Regions from separate parts of the Homo sapiens genome. Here all the other regions are linked to region 1. Evidence: promoter capture Hi-C in human tissues and cell types (Jung and others, 2019). All regions are on one chromosome and are shown on one strand. Each heading gives the region's core, a stretch centred on a gene start or on the middle of the fragment in contact. The rest is flanking DNA. Distances are from core to core; before and after follow the strand shown. Region 1 holds the start of ABCC12 (ATP binding cassette subfamily C member 12). Region 2 has its middle 35 kb from the start of LINC02134. Region 3 has its middle 15 kb from the start of LINC02134. Region 4 overlaps LINC02134 (long intergenic non-protein coding RNA 2134).

Evidence for each region. Contacts are between HindIII fragments. The study calls those that stand out against the background at their distance.
Region 2: a contact is called between a fragment that was not itself captured here and the fragment with the promoter of ABCC12 in region 1, in 2 of the 25 tissues and cell types used here (H1 embryonic stem cells and dorsolateral prefrontal cortex).
Region 3: a fragment that was not itself captured here is called in contact with the fragment with the promoter of ABCC12 in region 1 in 2 of the 25 tissues and cell types used here (IMR-90 fibroblasts and lymphoblastoid cells).
Region 4: a contact is called between a fragment that was not itself captured here and the fragment with the promoter of ABCC12 in region 1, in 1 of the 25 tissues and cell types used here (adrenal gland).

What each region holds. Positions count from the first base shown.
Region 1 is chr16:48,154,386-48,157,981 of GRCh38, forward strand. It overlaps ABCC12 (ATP binding cassette subfamily C member 12), which reads right to left and starts at 1,608. Exons shown (of 31, transcript NM_001393797.1): 1 at 1,456-1,608. RefSeq lists an enhancer at 3,592-3,596. The HindIII fragment of the contact is 12,201 bases long and covers 1,237-3,596 here.
Region 2 is chr16:47,928,706-47,932,301 of GRCh38, forward strand. No RefSeq gene overlaps it. Among named protein-coding and RNA genes, the nearest start is that of LINC02134, 35 kb to the right of the region's middle. The HindIII fragment of the contact is 3,506 bases long and covers 1-3,434 here.
Region 3 is chr16:47,949,244-47,952,839 of GRCh38, forward strand. No RefSeq gene overlaps it. Among named protein-coding and RNA genes, the nearest start is that of LINC02134, 15 kb to the right of the region's middle. The HindIII fragment of the contact is 8,848 bases long and covers 1-3,596 here.
Region 4 is chr16:47,970,164-47,973,759 of GRCh38, forward strand. It overlaps LINC02134 (long intergenic non-protein coding RNA 2134), which reads left to right. Exons shown (of 2, transcript NR_146502.1): 2 at 1,200-1,524. Among named protein-coding and RNA genes, the nearest start is that of LINC02134, 6.3 kb to the left of the region's middle. The HindIII fragment of the contact is 3,322 bases long and covers 63-3,384 here.

The DNA.
Region 1 (3,596 bases), core at 358-2,857:
GACTGGCTTCTGGCTTTCGTCAAATATCAAGAGCTCTGTATGTTCATGTGGTGACAATCCACTTACGTTGAGCACGGCAGCCCCTCCTGGGCAGGGTATACATGCTTTAGTTTGCCACAATCCCCACCACTCCTTACTGTCTCTGTGACTCTGAGATTTGGGGTCATGTAACATTTATTATTGCATTGGCACTGCTGTCTTCCTTATAGTGTTTCCTGAGGCCTTTTTCTCTATCCTTGTCTCTGCCCCAAGAGAGAACAAAAGATGTCTAGAAGTCATCTCAAGAAGAACCATTTTCCACACCTGCCCACTTTGCTCTGTTATATTTCATTTCTGCCCCTGTCTAGCCCAGAAAATTAACAACTTTATGTTTGAGAACTGGACTCTGGGTCTTCCTTGGTGCTCATGATGGGAGTTCCTCCATCAACCAAAAGCAGGCACACCTTTAGTCATAAAATTTTTCCCAGGTATGAGACTACAGCCCTACTTCTTTCTTAATAAATCCATTGTTAATTTAAAGCCACCAAAGTTATCAATATCTGATGGTCTCCCCCAACTCCCACAGCCCCTTCCTCCAGGGCCTGACTGGCCTCCAGCACAGAGGAGACACTGGGGAGCTCTCCCAGGCCCTGCCTGCACCGCACCTCTCCTGTCTGTCCCCAGGTCCCAGGCACCTGTGGCAGCCAGATCAGAAAGCCCTGTGAGTGATGAGGGACTGGGGTTGGGAGGCAGGGAGAGGCAGAGAGGTGGCAGAGGGAAGTGCATGCAGGGGACAGCACCAAGCTGGGGGTGTGGGAAGGGAAGTGGGGGTGCTTTTGCTCAAGTACCCTCATCTCCCAGAAGGCCTAAAACAGTGGCCAGTGATGGCATCTCCAAAAGAGGTCATCCATCCAGTTACAGACACATTCCGACACGATCAAAGAAGGATGCAGAGCCTGGATTCAGAGCAATTCAAATCTACCCTCCCAGGAAAATAATATATTTAAAAGTTAAAAAAAAAAAAAAAAGAAAGAAAGATGAAAACCTCATATGAGAACTGCAGTAAAGCTTTCCAGGTCTTTTTTTTTGGGGGGGAGGTATAAATCCCATAATTAAATTGTGAACACTACCCTGTATATGTGTTTGTGTTTGTGCATGTGTGGGAAAAGACTTAAAATATTCAATGTAGGCTTTTGTATTTCAGAGATTTTGAAATCGCGTCTTGGCATTTCTGCCTTTTCTTTTATGATAGCGGGGGCTCCAAAAGTGGAAGAGGGGCTGCCTTTCTTCTGGGAGCCTCGTCCCTGCTGCCTCCCACTTGGGCAGCCCCATTCAGTGGTGTCACCTCCCCCAAACCCCCCACCACACACACACACAGCCTGTCCTGAGGATGAGAAACAAAGGCCCTTGGGACTAAATGGTGGCCACTAATTGTTACAGGGAGAAGCTTTACCTGGGCTGGAAATGAAGCTTTACCTGGGCTGAGGATGAGAGGGAGGGGAGGAGGGTCAGCAGTCATGGGGCTCAGAGCCTGGCATCTGCTGCCCAGGACTCCAGGGCCTGCTTCTCCCCAAGGACCTCAGATTCAGTTTCTCTTGTCCCACCCGCCTGAAGTCCTCCTCTCCAACTGCCCCATTCAACTGCCACTCCCACCACACCTGAGAGGGAACTCTGGCGGGCCAACATTCCCTCTGCCCACATTAAAGGGCTCTCCCCTCTTCCAGGATGGCCTGTGGCCGGGTCTGGCTCTTTGGTGACAGTCAGAGCCCATGCATGAAAGCACTGTGCATGGCCAGCCCTTCCCTGGCTGTCACAGCACATCCTTGTAGAAGAGAAGGAGAAAAATCCTCTCTCCAACCGTCATTCTACAGACGAGAAGCCCAAGGAACAGAAGCCTGTCCACGACTGGCGTGGGGCTGAGACCAGCACCCAGGTCCCCTGAGTCCCACTCCAGGCTCCTTCCTGAGAGAATGCATCGAATTTTCTACGCTGTGTTCCTGCAACCGGGAATCAACTTTGGGATCAGGGGAAGGGAAGGGAGGGGAGGGGAGGGCAGGGGTAGGGGAGGGCAGGGGTAGGGGAGGGCAGGGGAGGCGAGGGGAGGGGAGATGAGCCTCATCTTCAAAACAGAAAATCTCATTCATTCATTCCCCATTCATTTAACGAAAAAGAAAAGGGTAATTTGAGCTCAATTTGTCTTGAAATGAACGGAAGGTAAGTCTGAGACCTGCACTAGCAGCTAGCCCTTGCATAGAAAAGTTCCCCTGTGTCACCCTTGGAACCCTGCACATCCCGAGCGCAAGCGTGATTCCCGGGGTCCCTTCTGCGCCTGTCCCAGAACAAGCGCCCGATTTCAGGGGAGCCCAGCCGAAGGGTTCCACAGCGCTCAGCGAGCCGGCTGGGAGGGAGCAAACTCTCTAACTGCAGAAAAAAACAAATCTTGATTCCGCTTTAAGGGTTATTTAAACATCTTAGAGGACCTTCCCAGCCTCACGCACGTGGATTTCATGAGGAACTTGGCCGCTACCTTCTCCTGTCCTGCGCAATGCCGCCCCCTGCTGGCTGCCTTCCGGCCCCGCCGCTTCCTGGAGATGCGAATTCACCGCCTTTGCCCAACCTGAGTTCCCTTCCTACCTAGAGGGAGGTGGAAATGGAGAGGGGCTGTGGGCAGCTGTGTAGGAAAATGGGTCCTCCCAGGAAGGCTCCCCGGCCTGGGGAGTGAGCTAGACCGACAGCAGTTTCCTTACACGTGTCCAAAGTGTTCCATTTAATTTCCGTCCATTCTTCCCTTCATGAATGCAAATCACTGCTAATAATATCACTCGACATTTCTGGAGCCCTTTGTGTATCGCAAAATTCTTCATCCTCTTTATCACTTGATCTTCGCAACAACCCCGGGGGTCTCATAAACACAGCAAAGACTCGCTTCCACAATCTTCCAAACGGAGTCAAGTGCTGTCAAGTTTATGGAGGAAGAATGCCGATCAGTTTTCCTCTATCTCCATGAAAGGCTGGGCGGAGATGGATTTCCACCCAGACAAACAGTATTGGGCGCTACGCAAGAAGATTGGTGGGCCTAGCCGGAAACAGAGTGGAGAATGATGGAGAGGGACTGTCCGGTCTGTATCCAAGGAAGTCCTTAGGAAAAGACCAGCCAAGCTCCTGTTCCAGGCAGAGCGTGGACTCACCCATAGTCAGGGAACTGAGGCCCATCCTGGGTGTACACACAGCTCGCGGGGGGGCGAGATAATCCACTGGAATACAAAAAGAAAAAAAATAGAAATCCTTTTCATATTTCTCCTCTTCCTTTAAAAATTCTATTTTGGCTGTGTGCAGAGGCTCAGGCCTATAATCCCAGTACTGGGGGGCCAAGGCAGGTGGATCACTTGAGCCCAGGCATTCAAGACAAGCCTAGGCAACATGGTGAAACCCCATCTCTACTGAAAATACAAAAATTAGCTGGGCGTGGTGGCATGTGTCTGTAGTCCTAGCTACTTGCGAGGCTGAGGTGGGAGTATGAATTGAGCCAGGGAAGTCAGGACTGCAGTGAGCTGTGATCGTGCCACTGCATTCAGGCCTGGATGATGAGAGTGACTCTGTCTCAAAAAAAAAAATTG
Region 2 (3,596 bases), core at 432-2,931, 230 kb before region 1:
TCTCCTAACCGTGTTAGAGAGATATATATTAAATATCACCAAATAAATATATCACCATTGTGGGTACGATAAATAACACAAAAGAAGAAAAAGAGGATGCAAAAACAGGTTATAATAATAGTCTAATTATTTGGTTTGGGGAGGTAAGAAAGGCCTTTTGGGGGAAGTGATGTTTAAGTTGAAGTCTGAAAGGTGAGTGGGAGTTAGTGAGACAGGGAATGGGGGAAATGTTCAAGGCAGATGGAGCACCTTAAGTCAGGCCCTGAGAGAGCAAAGACCTTGGTTTGTGTGAGGAAATGAGAAGAAGCCCAGTGTGCCTGGAGTTGGTGATGGTGGAGGAAGAGACAGGCAAGAAGTTTGGAAAAGGAGCTCAGATTTAATCAGGTTGGCCATGTAGACCTCGCAAAGAATTTTGGCTTTATCCAAATGCAATGGGAAGCTTTTGAGGCAGCATTATCCTATGAAAAGTTTCTGTGTTCTGTCATCTGGGCTGTCCTATATTAGCTGCATGACTATTGAACATTTGAAATGTGGCTAGTGCAATGGAGGAACTGAATGTTTAATTTTATTTCATTTTAATTAATTTAAATCTAAATAGTCACACGTGGCTAATGACTACTGCATTAAGCAGCGCAGCTTTGAAAGGTTTTATGGAAGAGAGCTACAAAATTGTATTTTCTTTAAAAAAAAATAATTCTGGCTGCAGCTTGGAGAGTGAATTGGAGGGGGTCAGGGGCAGGGGTGGGAGTGGAGTGGCCAGTTAGGAGCTTGGCCTGGAATGGGGGTAGTGGATGTGGGGAAATGTGTATGCACCACAGGCCTCAGTTATGGAGAGAATCTAGAGGGAAGGAGATGACAAGGGAGATCAGGTGGGGTCTGGAATGATGCCCAGGATCTTGGCTTGAGAAACTGGTAGATGAGGGTGCCACCACTCACCATGGCAGGATGGGCAGGAAAGGAGCATATTTGAGAGCTGGGATGGAGGAGAGGAAACATTTAGCTTTGTTGCTGGTGTGGTATACATACTGAGGTGCCACTAGGCAGCTAAATATTGGAGTCTGGAGCTTAGAACACATTCCATGGACACTCTAGGCCTCAAAGACTGAGTATCAAGAGAAGGAGGCTGAACATTACATTGGTCAAGTGTGAAAGAATTTGAGATAAATGGGATGAAGCATGGAGATAAGTTGAGGTTTTCAATTAACAATGTTCTCATTGCCTGCATTCTTCTATTACAAGCAATTAATGGGATATTAGAGAAACAGTTTATCCTGATGTATCTACTCACACATAACCATTTATTAAATATATAGTTGGGTAATTGCTTTCCAGTGTTTCCTAAAGCGTGGGCCAAACACTATGAGTGGTAGAGGAAATGATTTTAGGTAAACACAAACAAGAAGACATATCATAAGAAAGTTATTCTTTTTAAAAAATTTGTTTCCCCCTTCCAATGACAGAAGAAATTCTGTTTGTTGTAGGAATGTCCTGAACACTGAACACTTGCTAATCTCTATTTCAAACAAGGGGAAAATAGATCTCAAGCCCCCAGCCCTTCTCTTGGTAGGCAACAGAACTAGCTAGTTAAATAAAGTTATTATTTTAAATTTTTTATTTTTTGAGACAGAATCTCGCTCTGTTGCCCAAGCTGGAGTGCAGTGGCGTGATCTCGGCTCACTGCAACCTCCACCTCCCAGGTTCAAGCAATTCTTCTGCCTCAGCCTCCCGAGTAGCTGGGATTACAGACACCCACCACCACACCCGGCTAATTTTTGTATTTTTAGTAGAGACGGGGTTTCACCATGTTTACCAGGCTGGTCTTGAACTCCTGATCTCAGGTGATCTGCCAGCCTCGGCCTCTCAAAGTGCTGGGATTACAGGCGTGAGCCACCCCACCCAGCCATAACATTATTTTTTATTGTATTTATTTTACAGTGAATTTCTTTTTACATACTAAATATAATTATTTTTTATTTTGAAACAACTTCAAGTTTACAGAAAAGTTTAAGCAATTTACAAAATATTTTTCATTGACCATTAGCGGGTAAGTGATATGATGCCCATAACCCCTGAATGGTTGAGTGTGTAATTTCTGCAAACACGAACATTCTCTTCATAACCACAATCAATCATCAAAATATGAGTTACCATTCAAGCCCCAGACCCCATTCAAGTTTCACCAGTTATACCACATGTCCTTTATAGCAAAATAATCCAACCCAGCACCACTAGATTTAGTTAGATCTCTTTCGTCTTCTTCAATTTGGAAGAGTTTCTCTTTCTTTGACTTTTATGACCTTGACACTTGTCAAGATCACAGGACAGTTATTTTTAGAATGTACTACAATTTGCATTTGTCTGATATTTCTTCATGATTACACCAAGATAATGCATCTTTGGCAAAATGTCACAGAAGTTACGCTGTGTTCCTCCCATTGCATCATATGGAATGGCGTACGACATTGGTGTGTCCCATTACTTTAATGTTAACTTTGATTACTTGATTAAGGTGGTGTCTGTCAAGTCTCTACACCATAAAAAAGCTACTCTTTTATTCTTTGTAATTTATAAGCATTTTATAGGGAGATACTTTGATACTATGTAAATATCCTGTTCCTCCTCAAATTTTAAGGACTACTTTTGGCATCCATTGATGTTTTTTGGATGAATTAATCATTACTCTTGATAGTTGCCAAACAGTGAATTTCTAATTCTATCATTCCTTCTGCTGGGAGAAAAAGCTTTCTCTTTCTTCCATTTATTTATTTATATCTATATGGACTCATAGATTCTTATTTTATTCAACTAGTTATAATCTAATACTGTCATTATTTATTTTGATGTTCAAACTGTCCCAGATTTGACCAGTGAGAGCCTTTCCAGTCTGTCTTTTCTCCTTCTCTCAGGTTTCCATCATTCTCTGAGCACTCCTTGCTTTCTGGCACAAGATTCTCCAGGCTCTTCAGCTCCAGCCTTGACACCTGCCACTTCTCCAAAGAATCCTGGTTACTTTTGGTGGAGAATGGTATTTAGAAATTGTAAGAGCTGGGTGTTAAATGTGCTCATGGCTTTTGGCTCTTTCTCTCTCTCTCTCTCTTTCTCTCTCTCTCTCTCCACACACACACACAGACACACACACACTCTTATAAATACGTATACATATAAACATCTATATTTATTTTTAATTCTAGTTATCTCTCTGCCTATCATGAGTTCATACTGATTCCAACCTAATGCCACAGGTTTCATTCTCATTTCTCTCTTTCCATATTCTTAACTCCTTCTCCAACCACGAGAAACCTGGCTTCCATTAGCATTGTTTTGGAAAAACTCTCCTACTGTGTTTCTCCTCTGCTCTCACACCAGCACAACAACAATCAACAAAGAAAACTTTCATGACTCCCGAATATGTGGGGATTTCTCCCCACCAGCAAGCAAGCAGTTAATTCTGCAGTAGACACCAACTGGGTGTCTTCCAATTCAATTCTGACCCTATCTACCTGGCGATAGTGTCAGATACCACAGGCTGTGGGCTCAGTCCCCAAGACTGCCCCCCTTCCTTCAGACACCAATCGCAAGTCTGGGCCTACAGAACT
Region 3 (3,596 bases), core at 780-3,279, 200 kb before region 1:
GAGCACGAAGGAGTCACCGATGACATTAGAGAGTAGGATTTCATGTACTCAGTACCCACACCAGGGAGGCGTGCAGGACAGCCTGGTGGTTGTCTCCCAGTCACTGCACAATTACCTCTTCTCTGAGAACTGCCGCTCCCCGCCCCCAACTTCTTCTGTGCAGTGAGAAGGGCCATGTTCGTGTGGTGCGGCCATGCCCCACAGGCCAGTTGGTTGCCAGTCCATGGTGGCCAATGCCAGCTGGGTTGATTAGTCACTTCCTGTTAGAGACAGACGGAGCTAAGAGATGGAAGAGAGGCCACGTGAACCGGGAACTGGTGGTCCGTCCTGCTACCTTGTAGATAGGAAAGTAGGGCTGGCTGCTCTGTTGGGTGGAAAAAGAATGAAGTAGGCGTGCTGAAGACTCAGAGATGAAGTGCAAACTGGGCCCTGAGCTCCCTACAGCCCTTCACTCGTTGGCTTCTTGCCAGAGCCAACTCCAGAGAGGATCTGTTTGGAGCATAACCTACACAAAGGCAATCTGATTGAGCTTCACTGCTGAACACTCGCCCTTGCCAGCTCACCCCGGCACCTTCCTGCCCTCTCCTGGGTGCTGTTGTAATGCTTGATCACCAGGAGAGACAGCTGGGGCACACGCAGACGCTCCCGCTTCCAGCATGGGCCCTTCCAGATGAGACAGGTCTGCTCCGCTTCTCAAAATGGCAATTAGGGCCGGTTGGTGCAGCCCCATCTGGAGGCCCGGAAATCTCAACGTGCACCTGCCAATGCTGTCAGGAGATGTGAAGGCCTCTGCACCTCTGGGGTGTGAGGAAGGGTAGTCTCTGTAATGAGAGGAGGCAGGCTATTACAGTGCTTATAACTGCATTTCTGTGCATGGAGTGCCATTCTGCAGCTGAGCCCTGGATTGCTTTGTGCTTGCTCTCTGTGGTCCTCATGCTTGGAAAGGCATTTCTAAGAGGGGTACAGGATACCCTCCCCCCCGAGGAACGTGGAGCCCAGTATTAAAGTATTTCTAGAGCATAGGCTCTTTCTTGCCTAAAAGATACTGTGCATGACCCTGCGGGGCTTTCAGTTGGTCCAATTCTTTTTTTTTTTTGTAATCAAATTAATTTTATTTTTAGTTTTTATTTAATTTCATTTTTTTTGCAAACTCTTCTTTTAGGTTCGGGGGTACACATGCAGGTTTGTTACATGGGTAAATTGTGTGTCCTGGGGGGGTTTGGGGTGTAGATTATTTCATCATCCAAGTAATGAGCATAGTACCTGAAAAGTCGTTTTTCGACCCTCACCCTCCTCCACCCTCCACCCTCAAGTCGGTCCCAGTGTCTATTGTTCCCCTCTTTGCTCATTGTTTAGTCCCCACTTACAAGTGAGAACATGCAGTGTTTGGTTTTCTGTTCCTGCATGAATTTGCTTAGTATAATGACCTCTAACTCCATCCATGTTGCTGCAAAGGACATAATTTTGAGAGGTGAAGCCAGCTGGGCTTCCGGGTCAGGTGGGGACTTGGAGAACTTTTCTGTCTAGCTAAAGGATTGTAAACACACCAATCAGTGCTCTGTGTCTAGCTAAAGGTTTGTAAATGCACCAATCAGCACTCTGTAAAAACGCACCAATCAGCGCTCTGTGTCTAGCTAAAGGTTTGTAAATGCACCAATCAGCACTCTGTAAAAACGCACCAATCAATGCTCTGCATCTAGCTAAAGGTTTGTAAACGCACCAATCAGCACTCTGTAAAAACGGACTAATCACTGCTCTGTAAAATGGACCAATCACCAGGATGTGGGTGGGGCCGAATCATGCAATAAAAGCTGGCCACCTGAGCCAAAGCGGCAACCCACTTTGGTCCACTTCCAAGGTGTGGAATGTTTGTACTTTTGCTCTTCACAATGAATCTTTCTGCTGCTCACTCTTTGGGTCTGCACTGCTTTTATGAGCTGTAATACTCACTGCGAAGGTCTGCAGCTTCACTCCTGAAGCCAGCGACACCACCAACCCACAGGGAGGAACAAACAACTCTGGACCCGCCACCTTTAAGAGCTTTAACACTCACTGCAAAGGTCTGCAGCTTCACTCCTGAAGTAAGCGAGACCACGAACCCACCGGAAGGAAGAAACTCTGGACACATCTGAACATTTGAAGGAACAAACTCCAGACATACAATCTTTAACTGTAACACTCACCGCAAGGGTCTGTGGCATCATTCTTGAAGTCAGCGAGACCAAGAACCCACTGGAAGGAACCAATTCTGGACACAATTTTCCTCTTATTTTTAAATTCTTTTTATGCAAACCCTCTATTCTGGTCCAGGTGCTCCCCTTTGGGGCAGAGGATGAACTTGCCAGTTTGTTATGCTCTTCACTAATTTAAATTACCTGTCTAGCCCAGTTGGCACTCAAATTTGCAGTCCTGATTCAATACAGGGTCCCAATCACAAGTTCCACAGCATGCCCTGTTGTTGACGCATCCATGGATGTGTCAGCCTAGGCCTCCTTCTCTCCACCACCATGGAAGTAGATCCTCACAGCCTCTTAGGCATCCCCCTTCCCATAACATAGCTGATGGGACCATAATACCTTCCAGCCTAACTCTGCTACTAACTAGTGTCTCTGTGAGATGCTGCAGATCCACTGTGCAGTTAGGCTGGAAGGTATTATGAACTGCAGGGCTGTGGGGGTGAGTTGGGGATATCCAGGCTGGACTATGTGTGTGTGTGGAACAAATGCAGCTGGTCTGAGAGAAGTTGAGCTTGGAGAGAGCAAGAGGTAAGAGGCCATCCGCCCAGGATCTTGCTAACATTCCAGGTCCTTGGTCCTGTCTGTCTTGACAACCTGCCAAGTTTCCTATGTCTTGCATTGCAGGAGATAAATTTATAAGAAGCCTAATTTTTAATTGAGTTATAATTTATATACAATAATTGCTCCAATCTTGAGTTGCTTCTGGACGCTGGATGATGCCTGATGAACCACTTCCCCACGTGATGACTGTGCCACAGTCCTCCATTTGTTTACTATGCTGCTCCCAAGCCAGTGGTGCTCTCCTTCCTGTTCTTTGCTTTGTTGAGCCCTTCCCATCCACCATGAAGCCCTCACTGACTTCCCCAGCCCAGAAAGGTCTGCCTGCACTTTGAGCACAGGACTTGACTCTACAGGGAGGCAGTGCAGTTAAACAGGCTGAAGTGAGCTTCTCCTCATGCGAGGTCCGGACTGGGTGCTGGAGACACAAAGACAGACACAAAGACAGACACAGTCCGGCCTCCAGGGGTTCGCCACAGAGGAGACAGCCATGTAAAAACCCCAACCACAATGCAGTGAGACAGGTGCTAAATGAGAGCCTTTCCTGCTGTTAGGGGAGGCCAGGGTCCTCAAGGAAAGATGGAAAACAAGGTAACGTTGGAACTTAAGGATGGATGAAACTTTGCCAGGTACAAAGAGACAAAGAGACCCTGCATGTTTGCTTGCTAAAGAAAAATATATTCAGAAGCTTGTTAAAATGGTAAGGAAGACTTTATTTAAGATTGTTGCAATAGAAGTATCGTAATAGGAGAGAGAGATTGAGCTCAGCTCCAAATACAGCAAGGATAAGTGGGGATTTAC
Region 4 (3,596 bases), core at 474-2,973, 180 kb before region 1:
TGACTAAATACATGCTCAAATGCATAAATTAAATAATGAATAAATCTGTTAATAGAAATCCGTCTAGAACTAGCATTTGTTTTAATGAGATCCAGTGCTATCGGCAGCCAAGTGTCTCAGCCTCTTCCTATCCCAAAGGGCTCAGATGTTCCCATGTCCCCACTTCTGAATTTCAGAGAGCTGCATTTGTGTCTGTTGCATGAGTCCTGTCCCCACAAAAGGCCATAATTATGTCATGTAGCTTAAGTTGTGCTGGAGGACGCCCTTATACCAGCCCTTAGCTCCTGGAGCTCAGTGGCCTCTCTCATCTTCCCATGTGTATACCTTGAGTCGGTTTCCTCTCTCCAAGGTGCTGAATCTTCCTTTCTATTTGTGCTTCCTCTCTTTGGAAAAAGGGTGTGTGGGTATGCTGAAGGTTAATTTGGCAGAGTCTCTTACTGGAGGCTGAGATGACATTTCAGCTTTGACCTGTCAAGTCCTTGTGACTTTCCAGAAATTGATTTGGGTAATGACTTGTCATTATGAGTAATTAGCATTTGTGGAAGTCTGAGAAAACCTGCTTTTTTTTCTTTAGAAACTTTGCTACCCTTTTGACACTTCTACTGAGGTTTCACATTTGGTAAGGGGTCAGGTAAAATCATAGAAATGAAAGGTTATCCCTGAAAGAAGTGGAAGTGTTTCTATTTCTAGATCTATCTAGGTATAATTTCCAGACTAAATCAGATTGCCATTACACAGTTCAAGTTAAAGTTAGCATTTGTAAGTTAATATTTGAAGCAAATAAGAGAGATACAGTTTTCATTCCTTACTCAATATGCTTGACCATGCACCAAAGGGACCATGACTAATTACTGCTCCTAGGTATTCTTGCTGACTTATGAGATGTTGAAACTGGAATAAACCTTGTTCAGTCCTCTCATTTTACAGATGAAGAAACTGAGGCCTCTCAAAAGATAATGTGACTTTGTTTTTCAATATTTAATTTATAGTTTGGAGATTGAGCCAGGTGACCTTTAAAGTTTTTTCAAAATATGTGAAGTACAGAGCAATGTGTTATAAACAGTTCAGCACTTGTAGAGATTTTCTGGGTTCACAATAGTATTTTCCTTATTTAATTCTATTACAGCAAATTCTGGCATATTCACAAATGGGCTGTCTCCATTTAAACATAGTAACTACCTTATCTGTTTTATTATCAGGGATGCATTGTGCTGGAGTCTCAATCAAGTGCCTGGAAGCTGAACGTGAAAAACAGTGCTGCCTGGATTACAGAGATACTGGCCATAAATGCATTCGTGGGCTCTCAAGAAGCATTAGGGATGCCATGAAGGAGGGGCATTTTTACTTTGTGTCCTACCAAATTCACTTAATTATACATAGCAATGAGGAAAGTGTGGGAAACAGCAAATCTGACCTTAGTGTGCCTTTGACTAATCCAAGCTTATTGTTTGTGAGTTAATATTGTGAAATGATCCCCTGTGCATATAATGCAGTCATCTTCAAATAAAAATCTGTGGCTTCAGACCTCTCTTCCTTCTTTGCTTCTTTTCTTCTCCCTTTCTTCCTTTCTTTTCTTCTTGCTCCTTCTTTCCCTTCTTCCACTCTCTCCCTCCCTTCCTTCTTGCTTTTCTCCCTCATCTCTCTCTGTCTTTTAAATCTTTCCATTTTTATTTCTGCATATGATGCTGGGCTTCCTTCCCTGTGGCTCCCAAACTAGAAGAGCATTTATGAACCCCTGATATAATGTAGGGCTTCCCAAAGTGGAGTGATTGCAAGATGATCCATTGCTGTCAAGAATTAGATATTCTAGTTATATTTATTGTATCTACAATATGAAAAATAAGATTTTACAAATATATAATTATATTTTTACTAATGCCACAAGTGCTATAAGATAGTGGCATGAGATCACAGATGTTTGGGTTTGGATTTCTTAGATTTGATCAGAGCAATAAGAACTTCATAGAAAGTAAAAAAAAAAAAAATGTGTAGTTCTATCCCTAGATCTGAACAACTTGCTCTGTGATCTTCACCAAAACACTCAATTTTATTATTGTAGGTTTCATGCTAGATGGAAATGGGAATAAATCAAGAGTTTAACTCTCTTCTTGCAATATGCCTTTGTACTTTTCTCCAGCTGCCAAGTCAACTATGGCTTTATGAAGCCTTCCTTCTTAGCATGTTGCAAAAGCAGGTATTCATGCCAGGCACCACGTAGTGGGGCAGAGCTAGGACCAGCTTTTTCCATGTGAATACAGTAGATGACAATGATGACGACGACGATGATGATGGTGATGATGACAATGATGTGTGTGTGTGTGACTAATGTGGAGTTGTGCACATCTTTATACATCTGATAAATGTTTACCTCATGTCTCTGGTATGGCACTATGTGCCAGAGACATGAGCTACAAAGATGAATAGGAATGGGTTCCACTGTCTGGTGGTAGACACAGACAGACAGCTGCAATCGAGTGTGATAAGTTCCTCAACAGAAGTATCATGGGTGTGGCCATCACAGTGGGATTCCTAGAGGGGGTGCACAATACAATCTCCCCCAGTACACCAATGCTTTTCAAAAAATGTTGTACGTGGACCCTGGGAAACTTGCTGAATGTGCAGATTCCTGCCCCCCACCCCAGAACTATAGAGTATAGAATATCTGAGGAGGGAGACTGGGAATATGCATTTTTGGCAAGCTCCTGGATAATGAACAAATGGTCTAATGGAATATCTTTTAAAGTACCTGAAAAATCTACCATTTGAGCTGCATTTTTAGATCTTAGAGCCTTTTTTGGGTTGAAAAATCCCAATTTAAAGTGCAAATACAGGCCCCTGGAGGGAGACAGCCTGTGTCTTATTCTTTCTGAATGTGCCTCCCCACACTTGCCACCATGCCCAGCATCCTCTAGGTATTCAGTGATCAACGAGTGCATAGAAAGAGTGTGCCAAGTAGTATTTTGGGGAGTAGGAGAAGAGGGAGCAGGACAGACAGCTGTGTTTAAGCAATTGGGAGCAAGTTGAGGATCCTGGGTGACAAAATAGGGCAATTTGAATGGAGAGAAGGGCCCGAAAAGAAAAATGTGAGAGAGGTGAGGAAAAACATAGCCTGTTTCAGGATGTCCAACAGCCTTCATCAGGTGAGGCTAGAGACAATGAAGGATGGAACTTATCTTTAACTTTATATTCTATCACTTCCACCATTTTTATTAAGGTATAACATGATTTTAAAATAAGCGCATATTTTAAACTTAAGGATGAGTCTTATCAGGTTTGATATTCTGACTCCATAACCCAATAGCTGCATAACTTGGGTAAATCTTTAACTTCTCTAAAGTTTAGGTGGATGGTCTAATAAGTAGGGGTACTGATACCTGCCTGCCTCAGAGAATTATAATGATCAAATATCAGCTCCAGAAGAGCACGATTGTTGTCTGATGTTCACAGATGTGTTCCCAGCTCTTGGGACCCTGCCAGCACACTGCAGGTCCTCAAATAATGACAGATGAATGACTTCCAGTGACTTGTCTGATGAGGAAGCAGAATGTAGGAAGGCAAGTGTGCACTTCAGACACAAGCAGAGCTGGGTTTAGATC